Linked DNA regions of Homo sapiens: region 2 is linked to region 1. The links are contacts of gene promoters, found by promoter capture Hi-C in blood cells and fetal thymus (Javierre and others, 2016). All regions are on one chromosome and are shown on one strand. Each heading gives the region's core, a stretch centred on a gene start or on the middle of the fragment in contact. The rest is flanking DNA. Distances are from core to core; before and after follow the strand shown.

Region 1 (4,253 bases), core at 1,100-3,599:
ATTTCTAAATTATAAAATCTTGCATGAAGATATATTCAAGGAGTACTGTATAAAAAAGCAAAAGGACTGCCACTGGAGATGAAATGTTTATATTTTTCCTTTTCAAGAGAAAGGTATCTATGGAAAGTGAAAAGCTTCCTTAACCCCAATAAAATAATTTGATTTTAAGGTAACAGGACATCAGAGCAAAGGAAAGACTATCCCTTACAACTGAGAATTTGTTTGGCAGGAGGACGACTATAGATGGGTGTTTCTGAGCTTTGGCACTGTTGACATCTTGGGCCAGATGCTTCTGTATTGTGGGGGCTGCCCTGAGCCTGGTAGGATGCCCACCCTGACCTCTCCTCCGCGATGACAGCGCATGCCCCTGTCCTATATTGTGACATGGAAATTCAAATGAATCCTGGAAGGTTAGATGACCCTCCTGTGAGAACCACTGTTCTCAAGAGATTGCAAATCCATGGCTCCAGCCCATGTTTCTACTGACCCTTGCCAGAATGCTAGGTATTGATCACACCCCCTATGCCAGACACCATCCCTGGCCCTACACACGTGATTAGTAACAAGACAGTCTTTGCCTTTGGGGAGCTCAGCCTAGTGGGAGACAAACCCACAACTCACCCCTGAAGCTGTGGGGTTGGAAATACAAGTTTTCATGCAAGGCTTCCTCAGAGGTGACATTTCACCTGATGCCTGAATGATGGAAATCACACAAGCTTGAGGAAGGGGAGAACTTTCCCATTGTAAACTTCCAAGTGTGTAAGAAGTACCAAGGTGAACAAAGGCTTGGAATGCCTTAGGCGGGAGGAACAAGGTAGGGGATGGGGTTGGGAGGACAGGGTGAGGCCGGGATGGGGTTGGGAGGACAGGGTGAGGCCTGAATCCCGTGTGGTCTGGGAAATGACCACACGGGAAATGACCCCCCTTCTCAGGCCTCTAGTGGGACACATGTCAGAGGCTGATGGGGCACTGTCAGCAACTATACCTGTTATACAGGGACAGGGTTATTACCACCACCAAACAGGACAGCAATATAAGAGGAAACGTTCTCGAATTCCAGGCAGGAAGACTTTCTGTCCCATTTTCCTATTGCCACAAGGAGCCAAGAGACAAGTGTATGGCTTCCTTCCTTCATTCTCTGTGTCCCCAGTGGCCAGGGATGCCCACTGTGGAGGCACCCGGGGGCGCACAGTGTCTTCAGACGCCTGCCTGCAGCCAGTGACATATGAAGATCATCTACATCTTTCTTTACCGCAACATTAGCAAATCGATTTTTTTAATTGGCTTGATTTTTAAAACCACTTAAACATACAAACTAGCATCAAATTTATACTTACAAAACAAAAAAACACAACTATGTCAACTTAGTAACGAATGGGAGAAGCACCAAGGAAAAGTGACGGCAGGACCCAATCCTAGAGCGCGTTTCTGGACTTTATTCTGTGACTAAGGTATTTTCCTCTTTCTCAGCTAAAACGTCCGCGCGCGCCCGCGGGGCTCACCTTCCAAACAAGCAGGTGCTGAGGCTCAGGGGAAAGTGGGGACCGTCGACCCCGCTCCTTTTGATAGTAACCAGGCGTCTCGTGGGCCACATTTTCTAAACAGTAAGTTGAGTATAATCCGTAGGGGAAGGCCAGGTATAATCCGTAGGGGAAGGCCAGAAGCAAATTTACAACTCTTCCACTGCAAAAGAGGTGCGAGTTACTCTGATAGCAAAGGAGCTAAGAAGGGCCCCGTGCCCAATTCACCTATCCCCGGCCACAGAAGCGCACACCGCAGCTAGCTAGCGGGGACCCCAGGACGATCCGACCGCAGCCCCCGGCGCCCCAAAGTCCGGCAGCTGGGGTGTTGTCGCCAGCGCCTGCGCCTCCTGGGAGCTTCCACCGAGACGCCCTCGCCAGAGCCCAGGAGGAGTCGGGCCCAGGCCGCGCGTCTGTCCCCTGCCCGTCCCCGCAGAGCTCGGGGGGTCCCCGCGGCTCAGCCCTCGACCCCGGACAGCTCCCAGGAGTCCCGGCCGCAGCTCACCTGGGACGATCCGGCCCGCAAGGCCACTTGTCGAACCACCGCTCGTCAAGTCGCACCCAAAGTCCGCCGCAGGAGGAGCCGGCGCCGCGCTCACCTCCGCCCGGTAAGCTGCGCCCGCCACGCTCCGCACACACCGGGCCGCAGCCCGCGGGGTCGCGTTCGCTGCACCCCGGCCTGCAGTCCCCGCTGCTCCCGCCGCCGCCTCTGACGGGGACCCGGTGGCCCTACAGGCTACGTCCCCGGGCGCCCGGCTCTAGCGGCTCCCACCGAGTCGAGTCCTCCCGCCCGCCCGCCCGCCCGCAGCGTCAGCCCTCCACTTCCTTCTTCCAGCCCGGCGCGCCCGCCCAATTCAAACGAAAACGAAGATTCAAATTCTGGCGCTAAGCGCTGCGATTGAACGGGAAAGCGCGGCATGGGACCAATAGGAAGGGAGCGCAGGGCGTGGGCGGGGAGGGGGCGGGGAAACCGGGCTCGCGGGGCGGGGCTGGCGTGTCCGCGGGCGAGCCACTCACGCATCCGGAGGAAAATACCTGGGTGCATCCCCGGCGAGGGCGGCTGGCGGAGGGCAGAGGTGGAACACGCTCCCACCGAGATAACCCGTCCTGCTATCCTTTTCTTAAAGGACCAAACATCTGGGACACTATAACATTACTCATTGCCAGAAGATTTAAAACTGCTAAAAATTAAAAACAGGCGGGACGCGGTGGCTCACGCCGGTAATCCCCGCACTTTGGGAAGCTGAAGCAGGAAGATCCCTTGAGCCCGGGAGTTCAGAACCAGCCTGGGCCACCTGGAGAGAACCCATCTCTACAAAAAATTCGCCAGGCGTGGTGGCGCCCCTGTAGTTCTAGCTACTGGGACAGCTGAGGTGGGAGGATCGCTTGAGCCGGGGCGGTCGAGGCTGCAGTGAGCTGAGATCGCGCCACTGCACTCCAGCCTGGGCGACAGAGCAAAGCCCTGTCTCAAAAAAAAAAAAAAAAAAAAAAAAAAAATCGAAACCTTCCTCTTCAGTGCATACATCTTACCAAACACAAAAACAACCAATTATATAAAGTAGTTTGGTGTGTCTTTTCCTGCTATACGTGTATTCTCTTTTTCAAAAGCACAGAAAAAAAGGTCATAACATACACAACACGATTCTATACTTTGTGCTCTCTGCTTTTAAATATCCTGAGGCTATCTCCACTGAACACATTCTCGCTTTTACTCTCTGATGGCTGCAGAGCACTGGGCTTCGGGAAACCATAATTTACTTAATCATTACTATTGCCACATACTTAGGTTTACAATGTTTTGTTATTAGAAAACATTCTTCAATTGAAATGGCTTGTGCATGCCAAGATGGGTGAATCCTAAAATAATTCTACACAGGATTCTATCGGGGTCTGCTTCAGTTGCGCTGGTGGCCATGTGGGCTCAGTAGGCCACCTGGGGTGAAGTGAATGGAGCCTAAACACGCTTTTGGTGACAACGGCCTCTCTGCCCCATCTCACCTCCTCCAGCTCCCCAGCAACCCTTGGAGCTTGGCTCCCTTGATCAGGGAGGCCTCGATGCAGGGGACCCCTGAGGACTTCCTATTCCTTTCAGAGAGTCCATAAGGTCAAAACCATTTATCTAATGACCCTCTGTGTTACTTGCCCTTCTCATTCTCATGCTCCCAAGAGTGTGGGGTGTGGTTCTGCAAATGCAGAAGCAGTGAGGAGACTCCCACTGTCTCCGTTTCAACCAGGTATTACAGAGATTTGCAAAAATGTGAACTAAAGCGCTGTTTTCATTTTGTTGTTTTTTTTCCATAAAAATAAGTTATTGGTGTTAGCATGAAATAGGTGCATCACTATCTTAAAATGAATCAATAAATGAATATTTTTAAATTCCTTAGCCTTAACTTAAAATATATAAATATAGCTAGATATAACCCATCCACATTAACAAAAATTCCTGGTGGTTCTCAATAATTCTTAAGAGTGTAAAGGGACCACAAGATTGAAAAGACTGAGCCCTCTGCTCTAGAGCAACTACAAAGATATCAGCTGCTGATGGAAATAGAGAAACTGGGAAAGCAACATAAAAGCACAGGACAGCAACTCTAAATTGTATGGGCCAAGTCTGACGTAGAAAAATTCAGTGCGGGGATACTATTATATAAACGTTTTAGGGGGCATGAGTTTCCATGTTTTCCCCCATTAAACGATCAAACAAAGCCCACCACTGCATAACCCCATAAAACA
Region 2 (4,253 bases), core at 498-2,997, 110 kb before region 1:
AGGGGCAGCACCTGCTGAGAAAAGCAATCCTTTAAACGGTCACATGGTAGACAGAGGAGGGATGTGCTATGATCTGAATGTCTGTGTCCCCCCCCAGATTTATATGCTGAAATCTGATCACCAATGTGCTGGGTTGAGGAGGCGGGGCCTTGGGAGGTGATTAGGTCATGAAGGTGGAGCCCTCTTGAATGGGATTAGTGCCCTTACAAAATAGGCTCCAGGGGACCTATTTGTTGAGGACACAGCAAAAAGGTCTTGAACAGGCAGAGGGCCCTCCCCAGACACCACATCCGCTGGCACCTTCATCCTGGACTTCTCAGCTTTCAGAACTGTGAGGAGCTTCTGTTGTTTACCCAGTCTAAGATATTTTGTTATGGCAGCTGGGCTGACTAAGACAGTGTGTAGAGGGAGTTTCCCGAAGGCAGGGCTGTGTTTGTTGTGTTCACCTTTGAATGCAAGTAGGTGCCAGTAAGTAGTGGAATGCATGCATGTGTGCGTGCAGGAGGCTACCACGGAATTAGACAAGACCCAATGTGCCCCTACCTCTGCCATTCTCTTGAAGTGTGCCTCAGGCCAAATTGCCTGTCCTCTCTGGGTCGTGGTCATCTCTGTTCTAGATGAGGATTCTGATCCTCCGTCCCAGACTGGCTGGCAAAGCAGGAGATGCACCACCCTAACAAGTCTGATGAGGACCAGGGCTTTGGCAGGGACCCCAGCTCCACAGGTCCCCTCCAGGCACTGGCAGAGGGTGCGTCCCCTCACAGCTGGGGTGTCCAGGGAGGTTGTGAAGCAGCTTCTCTGAGTTATAAAATATGGAGCGTTCTCTCCTTAGTTGCAATTTGGGGTCAAATGTTCTCCCAAACAACCGGAGGAGCAGTTATAAATAATGCATGCACATTGTTTGGCCCAATTAACATTCTTCAGAAGATGGGGGCAATTCTTTGAAGTCTCTTCCTTCAAACGGCGTGTATCGAGGGGGACATTGACACACCCCTGTTGGGCTGGGCCAAGCTTTTGCCCTAATTAGATATTTACACAAGAGACCCATGCGAGGAGGGCGGATTTATTTTTAATAAAAGAAGATTAAAATCTGTGTATCTGCAGCATATTAAGGAAGACTGAACCAAATTAAAAATTCTCCCACAACTTTGAATAGTGGGGGCCTGGAAAAGGAAGCATTTCACTTGGAATTTACTAAAAGTTGTTGCTTTGAGTCAGGAAGAAAAAAAATCAGCAATCCCCCATCCCCCGTCTCAACCCCAGCTTCACCTTGGCTTGTTGGCGCTCCCAGTGAGGGCACTGGGGGTGGTCAGCGGAGCCCTCTGCATTTGACGAGCCACTATAAACCCAAACCCTGTGGCTGGGCGTCCATTTGTGGAACTGCAGCCCCAGGCTGGTAGGAAGGAGACAGTGGAGATGACATGGCTGGGAATGGGATGGGGTGGGGGCCATGCTGACACTCTGCAAGCTCAGGGACCAGCCCAGAGGGTCACACAAGAGTGCATGCCACACCCGGTCTTCCCGAGAGAAGACAGATCTCCAGACTTTCATGTGGACTCCTCTGATTCTAAATATTTCAAACTAATTTAAAACCTTTGTAAACATATATACTTCCTCTTCCAACCTAGAAATTCCACTTACGGTTGTTGACCCCAAATACATGAAGAAATGTGTCCACAAAAAGACCTGTACCCAAGCATTCATAGCAAAGACCTGTACCCAAGCATTCATAGCAGCTTTGTTTATAAGAGCAAACTAACTGAAACAACTCAAATGTGTATCAAGAGGAGAATGGGGCCGGGCCTCGTGGCTCACGCCTATAATCCCAGCACTTTGGGAGGTCAAGGCAGAAGAATCGCTTAAGCTCAGGAGTTGAAGACCAGCCTGGACAACATAGGAAGACCTCTTTTTTTTTTTTGAGATGGAGTCTCGCTCTGTCGCCCAGGCTGAAGTGCAGTGGCGTGATCTCGGCTCACTGCAAGCTCCGCCTCCTGGGTTCACACCATTCTCCTGCCTCAGCCTCCTGAGTAGCTGGGACTACAGGCACCCGCCACCACACCTAGCTAATTTTTTGTATTTTTAGTAGAGATGGGGTTTCACCGTGTTAGCCAGGATGGTCTTGATCTCCTGACTTCGTGATCCACCCGCCTCAGCCTCCCAAAGTGCTGGGATTACGTGAGCTACCACGTCCAGCTGAGCTCATCTTATAATTAAAAATTGGCCAGGTATGGTGCCACATGCCTGTAGTCCCAGCTACTCACTTGGGCCCTGGAATTCGAGGTTACAGTGAGCTATGATCTTGCAACTGCACTGCAACCTGGGGGACAGAGCAAGACCCTGTCTCTAAAACTAATAAATAAAAGGGGAGAGCTGGAGAGCAGATGGCAGCACAATCACATGACTGTATGCTGTTCTGCAGTCCAAAGGAATGGGCTGCGGTGCCCATGAGAAAGCGGATGGGCCTTGAAGCCTGTGGCACTAGAGAAGCTTTAGGACACGAGCTGCGTGTTTCCACTTAGAGGAAGCTCAAGGGCAGGCAAGGGCATCTTCTCTGGAGGTGGAGATCAGAATGGTGTGGGCTTCCTGGGGTTGCAGGAGGGGACTTTTTGGTAGACTGAAAAGGGACAAGAAGGAGGTGTCTAGGATAGTGACAGATGTTCCTCCAGGGGACCAGGGCATGGACCATATGGGGGTCTGCAGCAGACATTTGCCCAAACTCATCATACCGTAGGCTTAAGGCCCATGCACTTAACTCTATGTAATTACAGCTTTTCAAAAAATGTAAAACTTTCAAAACACAGAACAGGTCAAACCCAGTAATACAGGTCACATTTAGTCAGCGGGACCCAATTTGCAGCTTCTGTTACAGTAAATTTGTACTCTTATGTTAACCAGGCACCCCCAGCCCCCAGGTGGAGAAACATCCTTCACCACCAGCCATCCATGTGGTGAGAACCTAAAACTACTCTAAAAGCATGTCTATTTTTTTAGACCAGTGCCACTATGCCTGGCCAATTTTTTTTTTTTTTTTACTTTTTTAGAGATGGAGTCTTGCTATGTTGCCCAGGCTGGTGAGGAGACAGCTCAGGGTCCAGGGAACAGCGTGGGCCAGGCTGACGGCGGTGAGCAGAGGGCAGTTCAGTGGCCTGGGAACAGCACCCAGGTGGCCGAGATGTGTCGGTCCCTGGGAGGTTGGCACAGCTCAGAGGGGACCACAGGGACAGCCAGAAAGGTCTCATCCCACCAAATCACTGCCCACCCAGTGGCCCCAGTCATGCTACTGTTTTGGATTTGTTGGTATGACTTGCCTTTTCACACAGGTGAGAGGAACAGACTCACCTTGTTTAGCCCAACGTGGCTGAGGCACAGCAGCTTCCTGCCTTCCTGCCGGGGAGACCTGTGGCCGCTGTGGAGCCGGTGCCGCCCTGGCCTTGGCTCCCTCTGCCCCAGACCAAATACTCAGGGGTCCTGTGAGGTCCCTCCCACTCCTCCTTTACCTTAGAAGAGTTTAGGAAATGTGGGTGGAAGATGAGGCACATCTTGGAAAGTGTAAGGCAGACCTCGTCATGCACACGCATTGAGCACCTGCTGTATGCGAGTCAGACTGCAGAACTGAGGGGTCAGAATGCTGGGAGGAGACAGCCCAGCATCCAGTGAGCAGCGTGGGCCAGGCTGATGGCAGTGAAAAGAGGGCAGTTCGGTGGCCTGGGAACAGCACCCAGGTGGCTGAGAGGTGCTGGTCCCTGGAGAGGTTGGCATGGCTCAGAGGGGAATGGATCAAAAGAGTTTGGCGGGGCAAGTGGGGCGGGCATTAAGAACATTAAGAAGAGCTGAGAGCTATAGAAATTGGAGGTAAGAGGCCTGGCACGCTTGCTGGATGGGCCAGTGTGCACATTGTGAGGGCTGCTGCCCGAGCTGGCCTCAAAGAGGAGTCTGGGTTCAACTCCAAGGGCAGTAGGACAGGGTGAGAATTTTTTTTCTTTCTCACAGACATTTTTTAGAGGAGTTTCAGGATCACAGCAAAATGGAGTGGAAGGTACAGAATTTCCATATGCCCTCCCCACACAGGCACAGCCTTCCCCACCGACAACATCCTGAAATGGAATGGGACATTTGGTAATTGGATGACCTACTCTGGGACAACGCAGTCACCCAGAGTCCATACTCTATGCCACTCTCAGCCTCGGTGGCCACATTCTGTGGGTTTGGACAGATTTCCGGTGACCAGGACCCGCCAATGTAGTATCCAAGGG

Evidence for each region. Contacts are between HindIII fragments. The CHiCAGO score rates a contact against its expected background, and 5 or more counts as called.
Region 2: a contact is called between a fragment that was not itself captured here and the fragment with the promoter of MKI67 in region 1, in 2 of 17 cell types (neutrophils and total CD8 T cells). The highest score is 7.0, in neutrophils.

What each region holds. Positions count from the first base shown.
Region 1 is chr10:128,124,074-128,128,326 of GRCh38, forward strand. MKI67 (marker of proliferation Ki-67) reads right to left here and starts at 2,350. Exons shown (of 15, transcript NM_002417.5): 1 at 2,026-2,350; 2 at 1,503-1,683. The coding sequence starts at 1,594. RefSeq lists a silencer at 2,130-2,499 and an enhancer at 2,610-2,839. The HindIII fragment of the contact is 8,920 bases long and covers 715-4,253 here.
Region 2 is chr10:128,013,467-128,017,719 of GRCh38, forward strand. The region is part of intron 2 of PTPRE (protein tyrosine phosphatase receptor type E); the gene reads left to right. Among named protein-coding and RNA genes, the nearest start is that of AS-PTPRE, 47 kb to the right of the region's middle. The HindIII fragment of the contact is 1,476 bases long and covers 1,010-2,485 here.